2 separate regions of the Homo sapiens genome follow, and region 1 is linked to region 2. The links are contacts of gene promoters, found by promoter capture Hi-C in blood cells and fetal thymus (Javierre and others, 2016). All regions are on one chromosome and are shown on one strand. Each heading gives the region's core, a stretch centred on a gene start or on the middle of the fragment in contact. The rest is flanking DNA. Distances are from core to core; before and after follow the strand shown.

What was found. The method cuts DNA at HindIII sites, captures the fragments that hold promoters and counts their contacts. A CHiCAGO score of 5 or more calls a contact.
Region 1: a fragment that was not itself captured here is called in contact with the fragment with the promoter of FERD3L in region 2 in 1 of 17 cell types (M0 macrophages); the score reaches 5.9 in M0 macrophages.

Annotation. Positions count from the first base shown.
Region 1 is chr7:19,671,350-19,677,610 of GRCh38, forward strand. No RefSeq gene overlaps it. Among named protein-coding and RNA genes, the nearest start is that of MIR3146, 31 kb to the right of the region's middle. The HindIII fragment of the contact is 6,504 bases long and covers 1,292-6,261 here.
Region 2 is chr7:19,142,080-19,148,701 of GRCh38, forward strand. It overlaps FERD3L (Fer3 like bHLH transcription factor), which reads right to left and starts at 3,342. Exons shown (of 1, transcript NM_152898.2): 1 at 2,703-3,342. The coding sequence starts at 3,283. The coding sequence ends at 2,783. RefSeq lists enhancers at 2,075-3,274, 3,740-4,388. The HindIII fragment of the contact is 4,985 bases long and covers 1-3,477 here.

The sequences.
Region 1 (6,261 bases), core at 3,294-5,793, 530 kb after region 2:
ACATTTGATAGCTTAAATGAAATGAATAAATGTCTTGAAAAACATACCCAAAGAGAAAGCAATAACCTCAGTAGCCCTAAGTATATTAAGGAAATTTAACCAATAATTAATAACCTTCCAAAATAAAACACCAGGCCCAGTTGGTTTCACTGGTGAATTTTAACAAACATTTAGTCAGAAATAATACTAATTCTCCACAATGTCTTCCATAAAAAATAAGCATAAAGAATACTCTTATTCTATGAGGCCAGTGTTACCCTAATTTCAAAGCCAGATAGAGACCTAACATAATAGAAAAACTACAGACCAGTATCTCTAATGAACATATACTCAAAAATCTTCAACTAAATATTAGCAAGTTGAATCTAATAATATAAAAAGATACACCTGGATGAAGTGGGATTTATTCAATATGGACAAGCCTTGTTCAACATTAAAAACCATTCAACATAATCTGACTTGTCAAAGGATATAAAAGAAAAAGGATATAATCATACACTGATGCAGGAAAAACGTTTGAAAAAAATCCAATTCATGATAAAATTTTTAAGCAAACTAAGAATAGAGAAAATTTTCTAAAATTTTTTTGCTAGAAAAAATAAGAGTTATGCAAAAAAAAAATCTACATACCACCATTCTGAAACAAGCCTCTTTTTGAAACAATTAATACTTAATGTTGAAAGACTGAATGCTTTTTCCCTAAGTTTGGGAAAATGTAAGGATGTCCTTTCACAGCAGTCATAGTCAGCGTCATAAGGGAAGCTCTATTTAGAGCACTAAAATAAGAAAGAAAAGGTATGCATATTGAAAAAAGCTGTTTTTATTTGGAAATGACATGATTGCCTATGCAGAAATTTCAAATAATCTACGCAATAATTTCTGCAACCAATAGGTTAATACAGCAAGGTCACAGATTATAAAGTGAATATATAAAAGCCACTTTCTTATCTATACACCATCAGTGAACATTGGAACTTAAAATTAAACAATACATTTACAATAGTGCCAGAAATGAAATACTTGTAGATATAATTCTAACTAAGTATGAATACCATCTGAATGCAGAAACTGCAAAACATTGAATGAAGAAATCATAGATATAAGTAAATTGAGAGATATTCTATATTAATGAATTTGAAGGTGTAATATTACTGAGATGTTAAATCTTCCTTTAATGGAATTCTAATAAAATTCCCATCAAGTTAAGATTTTTTTAAAAGCCTCTCAATGAACAAATTGGGCAAAAGATCTAAATAGACACCTCTCCAAAGAGATAGACGGATGGCAAATAAGCTTATGAAAAGATACTCAATATACATTAGGGATATACAAATTAAAACAACCATGAGATATGACTGCACACATTAAAATGTCTAAAATAAAATAAAATAAAAACCCTGACAATACTAATTACTGATAAGGTTGCAGAGCAACAGAAAGTCCATTGCTGATGTGAATGTAAAATGGTACAACAAATTTGGAAGACAGCTTGACAGTTTCTTACAAAGTAAAATGTAGCCTTATTATGCAATTTAGCAGTTTTCTTCTAGGTATTTAGTCAATTGATTTGAAATGTTGTTAGGAGCTTTATTCATAATTGCCAAACTGAAAGGAGCCAAATCTCCTTCAAAAGGTGAAATAAACTTCCATTCAGTGGAATAGTACTCAGCAATAAAAAGGAATGAGCTATCAAGCCATGAAAATACATGTATTCATTTTAAATGCATATTGCCAAATAAAAGAAAGCATTCTGAAAGGCTATATATATTGTATGATTTGGTTATTTGCCATTCATGAACTGTCAAAACTGTAGAGATGACAAAAATATTAGTGGCTAAGAGAGGCTTAGAACAAGAGGAAGAGTTAAGTAAGTGAAGCACCATGCATTTTTTTGAGCAATGTCACTATTTTTATGACACCATAATGATGGATACAAAATACTGTGTATTTGTCAAAACTCACAGAACTTTACAGCAAAAAGAGAGGCTTAAATATGCAAATTTCTTTAAAAATTATTTAAGAGGTCATAGGACTCCTAGGATGAAATTTAGAATGTAACAGTAGCTCTGTCATCTTATTATTTCTTTACCATTTGTTCTCTTTATTCTTTGTTTCTCTGTTTCCTAGCTTCTGCCTTATTTTGAATTATTTGAATAATTTTTAATATTCCACTTCAGCTATATCTCTTCGAATAGTTTTTCATAGTGGTTGCTCTAGGAATTAAAATAGACATGGTTAACTTTTCATCATCTACTCTGAATTAATATTTTAATTTAAAGGGAATGTAGAAACCTTATCATATAGATAGGTCCCTTTACTCTGCTTCATTTGTCTTGCAGGTATCATAAGTGTTGCACATATATACACTGAAGCACCATCATATATATTTTATAGAACTTTAGAGGAGAAATATTATCTATCGTATTTACCCCGATGTTTGCCATTTTCATTGTTCTCCCTTTATTCTTAAAATTCTTTCTCTCTAGTAGCAATTCCCTTTCATCTAAAGATCTTTTAGTATTTCTTTAAGAGTAAGTCTGCTATTAACAAATTCCCTCAGCTTTTCTCAATCTGAGAAGGTATTTATTTATCTTTCAATATTTTAAAATCTTTTTCCTCTTGTTCAGATTAGATCATTTATATTAATCTGTCTTTAAGTGTACTGATTTCCTCTGTCATCTTCATTCTGCTGTCAAGCATACAGTGAAATTGTTTTCACTTGTAATTTTCAGTTCCAAAATGTCCATTTGGTTTCTTTCTATATCTTTCTCTGCTGAGACTTTCCAGCTTTCCATTCATTTCAGGTGTGTTCAATGTACTTACTTTTTGGAACATGGCTATAATAGCTATTTTACAATCCTAGTCTAATAATTTCAATTGCTATGTGTTGGTATTTATTGTATTTTACCTAGCAACATGCTGAGATTTTCCTGGTTCTTATATATTGAACAATTTTGGATTATATCTTGGGTCTTTTGAATATTATATGACTCTGGGTTTTATTTTAGTCCTATGGAAAAATACTCATTTATTTATTTACTTGCTTGTTTGGGCATGAAATTGGCTTGTGAGATTAAAGCAGCAAGTTTATACCTGCTTTCTGTGGGCTGTAGTTTCAATGTTAGTTCAATTTCAAATGCAACACGATAGCTACTATGAGACGTGGATGGCAGTCTAAATTCACAGTTCAGTTCTTGAATCCTTCTACACACTGTTTAGAGTCAAATTTGAAAATAGTTACAGGGCAAGGACAAAAGCAAATACAAAACTTTAGAGTATTGCTTTCTTGAGCTCTCTCCTCTCTATACTCTCCCAGTGGTTTCTAACTCCCAGAGGCCCTTCTCACTGATCCTCTTCATAAAAAGCTGTGGCTTTAGTTTCCTACTGTGTCATGCATTCCTGAAAATGTGTCTGCATCCAGAGCCAAGTGGTGAGAGGGTAAAGAGAGAAAAATAAATTATTGGACATTCTCCCCTCTTGAGATCAGATTCTCTGGTCAACGATAAAACGCCACTCTCTTAAGTTTTAGGCTGTTGACTACTCACTGATGCTGTTGCTGCCATTGCTGCTACAGGATTACTTGGAAGGTGGCGCCAAAAGTAACACACACACAAAAAAGAAGAAAATTGTCCCACTCTCGTTGACTCACAGGGGCCTCCTTTCCTGCTCATCGGATGGCCTAGAAATAGGTTCCTTTGGAACTCTTTCTGTCTGCACCCAGTGTACATTTCTTGACTGCTTTTAAGTTTAGGTCAGAAGATACTGGGGGAAAAAAATGAGAAACTCACTATTGGTTGTATGGTATATTACTTTCTAGTTTCCTTTGCCAATTCACTGGTTGACAATAACCAGAAGCACCTCTAAAAAGTATTAAATGTAATTATTTTTCATGTGATAGCATTTTAGTTAATGTATATTGTGAAAGACTTTGGAGTGTACTTCAAGAGCTCCTTCATCTGTGTGATGACTCTAGGGATAAAATGGAATTAGATAGACATAAGGTGGAAGGGATAATTATTTTCTGAGAAAAAAATATTGCACTGAATTTCCAAATATATTAAGAACTTAGCAATGAAATATTAATAAACAAAATAAATCAGTTGATCTGTGATTTATAGTTAGAAACACTAATTGAAACGAAATAGCATCAAACAAATGAAGAACTGAGTTTCCAAATAAAAATCAGAAAGGGTAGGAAGCTCTCATCAAGCATATTAGCATTTATATTTGTTGATTTTTAAAGTTCTTTTGATTATTCTGCTATAGGAATGACTGTTTATATTATATAATATACAAAAGATGCAAGCAAGAAGAAGAGAAGGTAAAATGGTACATGTACATGGGAATGATGTGGAAAAGTTAATTTGATTAAAAAAGAGACAGTATCATAAATTATTTCAACCATTGTGGAAGACAGTGTGGCTATTCCTTAAAGACCTACAGAAACACCACTTGACCCAGCAATCCCATTAATGGATATATACCCAAAGGGATATAAAAAATTCTATTATAAATACACACAGACGTGTATGTTCATTGCAGCACTATTCATAATAGCAAAGACATGGAATCAACCTAAATGCCCATCAATGATAGAATAAAGAAAATGTGATACATATGCACCATGGACTACTATGCAGCCATAAAAAAGAATGACATCATGGCCTTTGCAGTGACATGGATGGAGCTGCAGACCATTATCCTTAGCAAACTAATGCAGGAACAGAAAACCAAACACCACATGCTCTCACTTATAAGTGTGAGCTAAATGATGACAACACATAGACACATAGAGGGGAAACAACACACACTGGGGCCTGTCAGTGGGTGAAGGGTGGAAGGAGGGGGAGGATCAGGAAGAATAACTAATGGGTACCAGGCTTAATACCTGGGTGACAAAATAATCTGTACAACAGACCTCCAAGACACAAGTTCACCCATGTAACAAACCTGCACTCATACCCCTGAACTTAAAAAAGAAGATATGAAAAAGTAAGAGGAGTTAGGAGACAAGAACCATGAGAAAGATATTATTACTACTCCCTGTGTGGATTGTAAAATTGGAATGTTTATTTTAATTCTCTACAGGAGCAAAAAATTAAAAAATAATGAATACATTTTTCTAAATGGGGATATGAGAAATTAAAGTTCCTCATTAATGTTCTCTTATTTCCACTCATTAGTAACATTCAGAAGGCCCAGGATACTTTCCTTTCTTTAGTCTCATTCTATTCATAGAAAACTTGAGCTATTAGAACTTGTTACCTGGTTACCTCTAGAAAAAATTATATGATGTCTTATTAAGTTTATTTCAGATTTTAAAAAGGATAAAAATGCAGTTGACTTATTACAAATAAAATCACTTCTTCTATGAGATAACTTTAATCCAATTACATTTATCCTTGTGTTTTATGTAATGATCTATGTACATTTTTTGCTCAATTTTACACTATTATAATCAATTTTACTCTGCCTTAATTTGTACATCTTCAAGTTATTCTGAGGTTACTTTGCCATCCATTTAACAGTCATGAAGTCCTATTATTGAGTTATTACATTACTTTAATCTTGCTTAAATCTGTCTGGTCCTTAATTATTTCTCTTCTCAAAATAATCTTCAATTTGTCAGCTAGGCCCATAGTTTTATATATACTATTATACTTTTTACCATAATAGCATGGCTTTAACTTTTAACTATAATAAGTACTTGAAAGTTTTAAAGATATTTTTCTTATTGACTTTTAGGATTGGACATAGTTTGCATTAGAAAAACCATGAGCACAATTGCCAAAAAACATTGGCCATAATACTTCTCTCTTCCACATTCATTATATCACACATTTAGAATTTGAATGACAAATAATTGGAACTGAAATATAATAATGTAACAGACCAGCTGTCCTGCAGCGTTAAAATAGAGTGAGGAAGAATACAACTATAAACACTGTTTCCTCTTTCGAAATAACTCATTTATCCTTCACTTTAGAAAGCATAAAATATAGTAGTCCCCTTTTATCTGTGGTTTTGCTTTATCTGATTTCAGTTACTTGTGGTCAACCAGTCTGAAAACATTGTATGGAAAATTTCAGTAATAAATACCTCATAAGTTTTAAATTGTGCACCATTTTTAGTAGCTTGATGAAATCTCACACTGTTCTGTTCTGTCTTTTCTTGATCCCAAGAAGGGTAGGCCATGTGCAGTGGCTCATGCTTCTAATTCCAGCAATTTGGAAAGCCAACGCTGGAGGATCGCTTGAGCCC
Region 2 (6,622 bases), core at 2,092-4,591:
CTTTCTATGTGACTCTGATCCTTACCTGGGTTCAAATTACTCTGAGTAAAATTATTATGAAAATATCTTAAAAGACTACATTTGAGGCAGTTCCTAAACATGTAAACTTACAAATAGCAAAGCATTTATAAACGATTAAAGTTTTTTTTTTTAAGAAGGGTGGATAATTCCTCTGTTGATAATAAGAAAATAACTTTTAATTTAGAAGTTTTTTAGGTATCATTTACTATGATGAAGAGGTATTCACTGGAGGAATATTATTTGCTTTCTAGGAACAAAATGTATTAGAATATGATGGAGAAGACTAACGAAAACGGGTGGCTGTGCTGACTCCTCACGACTTAGGAATGTTGATGGTCCCTGGTCTACACAATTTTGCTTTATTTCTGGTTTTCAAAACTTGTTCTTTCAGCAAAATATTAAGAATTCCTAGATTGGAATTACTTTTTTTTCTTTTTATTTATTCAACACTTTCAGATGATTTTTTAAAAAAGAATGATGTTTAATTTCCAGGAGAAATTGAATTGGTGGAAGAATAAGAAAAAACAACACTCTATGGGGCTTTGTTGTTGTTTGGTGTTAGCTGTTTATGTATTTTTTTTTTGTTTACCTGTTTATCCTGATGTTCTTACGGTGCAGTTGAAAAAATTCTTGGTGGAAAGACACAGTAAAAGTAAAAAAACATCTTGGGAGTGGGGGCTCGTTTCAGAACTAATCCAGGTCCTATGAAAAGGAAAACTAAGAAAAGTTTTAAATATTCGAAGTACTAATGAAGGGGCTGGGAAACAGGCAAATCCCTGCAATGCTAGAGGGTGGGAGAGTGAACTGGCAGAACCCACCAAGAAGGGAATCTGGCCATTTATATCCACAAACTTGAATCCAGAAATTTCACTTCTAGGTATCAAATGTTAGGAAGTAATAATAGACAGAGAAGGCATTTACAAGAATGCTCTTAGCAGCATCATTTATTTTTTAAAAAGGAAATAGCTATCTATCTGGAAAGGGCTGGTGGTGGTGTGATACATGGATAAGACAATAAGATATGGTAATCAAAATCACATTTGAATAATATTAAAGTTAAGGGAAAACATTGCACCTTCTATAATGCCAAGTGGAAAAATATCAGTATCCCAAAGTATCTCGAATTAGTAAAATATATTGAATTTATAACTGCACAGGGAAAAAAAGACTGGAAAGAAATAGATGAAAATGCTAACAGTATGGTAACGTGGAGTGATTCGAATTTTCTCTTTTTTGAAATTTTTTTTTCCAAAATTTCTAGGATGAGTATATGTTACTTATTAATGAAATGAATTCTATTTCCGAAAGCATGATTAAGAGAATTGTGTGTTCGCACAGGCTCCCGCCTATTTCTGTGTGCAATGAGGGGCGAAATAAAGTGTTGGAATAATCACTGGGGATTATCCTTTAGGATTACTGAATTTATGTTTAGGTTGGCATTATTCAATCGGGTTCCTCGCCTCAGTTACCCACTCCTTTCTGAAAGACCCCAGTTCTGGTACTAGCACGTCACCTAGAAGGAAGAATCCTGGAATGGCACGGGTCCAAACTAGAGGCGGCCTCTCAGCATGGACCCGCTTCAACCTCATCTGCATGGCAGGCGTTTTGCAAGGCGTCAGAAGGCATCTCCTCTTTGGACTTTTTGTCTCCCCTGGTAGTCTCTAGAAGCCATTAGAGTGAAAGCTATCTTTCCTACCTACAGCTAAAAATGTAAAAGTGAGCGCGCTCAGGCGGCCCTGCTCCTAGAAAGATCCAGGCCCCTTCATACCCCAACCCCTGGCCGGGGACAGTTGGTAGCGGTGGCTGGTGGCGAAGCTGCAGGGCGCCCAAGGCCCCCTGCGGCCCAGGAGTGACCCGAGTGCACTCGCCCCTTACTCTGGCCTGGGGCCTGAAGAAGGCACTGGAACACGGAAGCTGATGCTGCACTTTAGATGCAAAGCGTAGATTTGCACTCTGGCTAAGGCACTGAATGAACACCACTGTGGCCCTGGGACAAGGAGCTGTGGTCCGTCTGGGATCAACTAGGTGGCGAAGGGGAGGGAGAAAGGAAGAGAGAGGGCTTGCGCGCGGGAGAGAGGAAGGGACGGGAGGGAGAGGGAATGGAAGACAGGAAGGGTGTCCCTTCTCAGAGGTCGCACTTTGTCAGCAGTTCCTCTCGACTGCTCTGCCTTCCATTTTTCCTTTCCTCAGTTCCTGGACAAGCCTCGGAGGACCAGGCAGAACCCTCTGGCTAGCAGAAAAGCTCGCACCCCCGCACCCTTGCGGCGTCTGCTTCAGACCCTCCACGCAGGCGCCCGCTGGAGCGCCTGCTGGGGATGGCGTACCACCGACCCTTCAGGCTTTTTAAAAACGTAAGAATTTCTACTTTATTATCTCTATGAAAAAAAAAATGTAAAGAAGAGAGGTTAGATTTTATAGAAGCTCCAAAGTCTGCCATTTGCGAGGAGGGTTCACTTCCCACCCACCCAGCCCACGGAAGCTCTTAGGAGCAGCCTGAACGGCCCCGACTCAGCCTCACGCTCTCTGACTTCCCCGCTCGCCCCTGACCCCGACTTCACTTAGGGCGGTCGCGTAGATATGAACTCTACAGCAGCCACTCTGCTCAGCGCATGTGGGGATCTTACAATCTCGACCCCGACCTCCAGAAGACCAGACGTTCTGTCTTGGGGCCTCCCTCCCGGCCCTTTAGCCTCACCCAGTGCCCGGTCCTGACACACCCCAGCACTACCAGACGAGGAAGGGCAGACTCTCCACACCAGGCTCAGCCGCTTTCCTTCTTCTCACAGCTCTCCAAGAGCTCGGTCATGAAGGAGATATAGACGATGGCCAGGCGGAGGGTCTCGATCCGGGACAGCCTTTTCTCGTAAGCAAACGTGGGCACCTTCCTCCGCAGCTGGTCAAAGGCCTCGTTGAGGTTGAACATCCGCTTCCTTTCGCGGATGTTGGCGGCCTGGCGCTGGGCGTAGGTGATCACCCTTTTCCTCTTGGGGCGGCCTAATAGGGAGACACCTCTTCCGCGCTCCTCTTCCTCCTCCTCTTCTCCGTCCCCCTGGTCCACTTCGCACTCCTCTTCTTCTGGGTCCCCCTCTTCAAACCGCGCCATCCTCCTGGGTCTTCCCTCTCGGAGCGCAAGGGCTGGGTCCCCCAAGGAGACCCCGGGTGCGAAGTCGCAGAGGAGAGGGCGTCTCGGGGAGGCCAGGGACAGGTCTGCGACGAAGTCCAGCACCGTAGTGTCCACGCAGCTCTCCGGATAGGCCGCCATCGCTTCGGCTTGGCCCTGCCTCTCATCGGTTTTCCGCAGGGAGGGGCGAGGTTGCTGGTGGGGATTCTTAACAGCCTTGAATCTGATGGGGCACCATCACCGAAAGGCCAGGGAACATTAAATATTTATAACCAAGCTGATAACAGGATTAGTCGCACCGATAAGGAATGCTCTGACAACGTCCCTTCTCTCGAAGCTTATGGAAGATGACAAGCTTGAGCACGCATGGAAGACTCAAAGGGACAGGGCTCCAGTTCTGAGATCCTTTTCTCTGCGCCACCCGGGACAGTTCCTTGTTGGCAACAACCCCCAGCTCTTACCTGCTGTGCTTTTTGTGTCTGTCTTCACCCCTGCAGCCAACTAATGTTCTCCAGGCTCCTTATCTCGTGTAGTTCTTTAATTTCGTGTTGGATTTTCAAAGCGAGGATGTTTTCCACCGCGATGGCTTCTCCTTGACTTCAGGGTAGGAGTCTTGAATCTTGCCACCATCTGCCAATGGATGTGGAGCAAGTGCATGTGCTTTTAATGATGTCCTGAAGAGGGGCCCTGCCTGCCTGGCATCAAGGGGAGCTGTTTGTCTGGTATCCCAGTGCAGCGGCTGCTGAAAGGCAAGACCTTCAATTAGCTTAAGTAAGCATGGCAGGGGGACCGAGAGTGCATTCCCCAGAGTCGCTGTTGGAACCGGCTTTCTTTTCTTTCCAGGGCATCGCAAACAGCTCTCCTGCCACGTTACAAACCCTGACTTCTAAAGTCTGTTTGGATGCAATCAGCGTAACAATTGAGATACTTGACTTTCCTTTCCCTACCTTTACCTCCTACTCATATAAAATAGAGGATTTTATTCCAAGAGGAAAAGTTATGATGGCAATAAAATGAGAAATTTAAGCTCAGGATATTTTCTATGCTCGGGCTTTGCTGTATACTTTTCAGTGTGGGGGACAAAGCAAACTCTCCTCACAAACAAAACCACTTCAAGCTCTTTTCAGAAATGCGATTTGCCCTTGATAAGCCAAAGAGTCAATCAGCTCACCCTCTGCTGAGGAGTCTTCGGACTTTTAAATTGCGGATCGAGTATTTGTTCCCGAACAAAGAAAAAAACCTAACACTTCCATCTGGCGTATTTTCCTCATTGATTTGTATTGTCCTACAGTAAGACTTAAGTGCAGAAACAATGATTTATTGAAATATATTTAAGGGAGTTTTTGGCTATCGTTAGATCGTTATTTTTGAGAAAAGAAAGAGATTTTAAATTTGGCATAAGAAAAATAAGAGATTACTCATTTTATATTATCTCGAGTATCCCAAATATTTTAACAAAAAGGTTCTTTTTCTTTGTTTGCCAATAACTATATTTACTTAATTATTCAGTACTGTGTAAAGATTTATTTAAAAGACCCATTGTGTCAAAGTGACAGATTAGAAGATAATTTTAAAGGTAGATTGGAAGAAATAGCCTAAAAAGATGAATGTAGAAACATCCCGGTTCAAAAGAGAACTGCCCAGGACGTCAGTCCCTATTAAGGGGGTAAGTTGTGGTTATGATGGTTCACTCAGTACATTGGACAGCTCCCAGAAACCAGAAACCGCCTATTTCTAACAGGTAATCTCAATTCATTTTCTTCTTCCTAGCCTCTATGTGTGTAATCAAAACAGTATAACCTTTAATTCTTCTTCTTCTTTTAACCCATTTGTGTCTGGTGTCTCTCGATCTTTTAATAGATTTTATCTTCTTTTGCTTGTGTTTACTCTTCATTCTCCAGTTTGAATTGTGATAACTCAGGCAGAGAATAATTGAAATTTGTGATCCTGGAAGATGTTAAAGAGAATGAGATCTTTGGTTGTTACTTAGTTGATTTTTGCTAAGCATCTTTCAAAGGGAAGGCTGAAAAATAAATAATAGGATTGTCAACAGTGGCTATGAAGCTAGTAAATGGGAGAACTGATTTTTGTTTCAAAAAAGTAGTAACATGCTTGCTAACCCTCGTTTAAATTAATATGTTATTAAATATTTGGACAAATTTCTTGTTGATTTTTAAATTATGTTAAATGCTTCTCAGTGACTTATTTTGTATTCATTTACAATCTATTTGCAAGTGGATTAAACACCTCAGTCAATTGAGAATCTAGTTTCGCAATATAATACACTGGAAAACAATGAAGGAAAACATGGTTGATATTTAAATTTAAAATTTCATAAAATGGGGGTCAGAAGCCTTCATGAGACTAAAGAGATAGTTTCATTGGACTGAACTCCTTTATGATTTTAGCCAAGGCAATGTACCTTTCTTGCTTGCCTTCCTTCCTTCCTTCCTTCCTTCTTTCTTTCCTTCCTTCCTCTCTCCCTCCCTCCCCCTTACTCCTTTTTCTTTCTTTCTTTCTTTCTTTCTTTCTTTCTTTCTTTCTTTCTTTCTTTCTTTCTTTCTTTCTTTCTTTTTCTTTCTTTCTTCTTTCTTTCTCTTTCTTTCTTTCTTTCTTCTTTCTCTCTTTCTTTCTTTCTTTCTTTTTCTTTCCTCCTTCTCTCTTTCAACAGAGCCTCACTCAGTCATCGAGGCTGGAGCGCAGTGCTACAATCATAGCTTACTGTGCCTCAAACTCCTGGGCCCAAGCAACTCTCCTGCCTCAGCCTCCCGAGTACCTAGGACTGCAGGCACTGGCCACCTCATCAAGCTAAAGGTTTTGTTCTTTAGAGAGGAGGTCTAACTATTTTGCTCAGGCCTCAACCAGTCCTCTCACCTTGACCTCCCAAAGTGCTGAGATTACTGGCCTGAGCCACTGCAGCTGGCAGAGAATGGAGATTTCAATAATCATATCACAAAAGGAACTGTAGCAAAAGTAATGGAACCAGTGCCTAGAACTGGGTTGAAATACTTGTATTAAAGTATTAGGAATTTTTTAAATGTCCTAATAGGTACACCTACAGCAATTATTTTAAAATATTTTCTTTTTTATTTCATCATAAAAATCCCAGGATAAACACTTCTGTTTATACCACCTTAATTTCTGTTTATCTTACAAGGTTATAATCATGCTAATATAATTAAAGCAAAAAATGTTAAAATCTAAGTTATGAGTGTTTTTATTTATAATTATAATTAGTTATATAAATTAACAGTTACAGTTATTTCATTTATAATTATAATTAATTATAGGAATAACTGAAATTCTTTTTCTCTGCTTATTGTGAAATGGTCATTTTATTTTTAGAAGACTTTTGTGGGTATTTGGTTCCACAGTAAATATATATGGCAAAAGCAGTAAATTTATAAAGTACCAAGTGATGTTACAGTTCATCCTATTGGAAGGAATCATTATTTTCATTTCTAGATTTGAAAGTTAAGA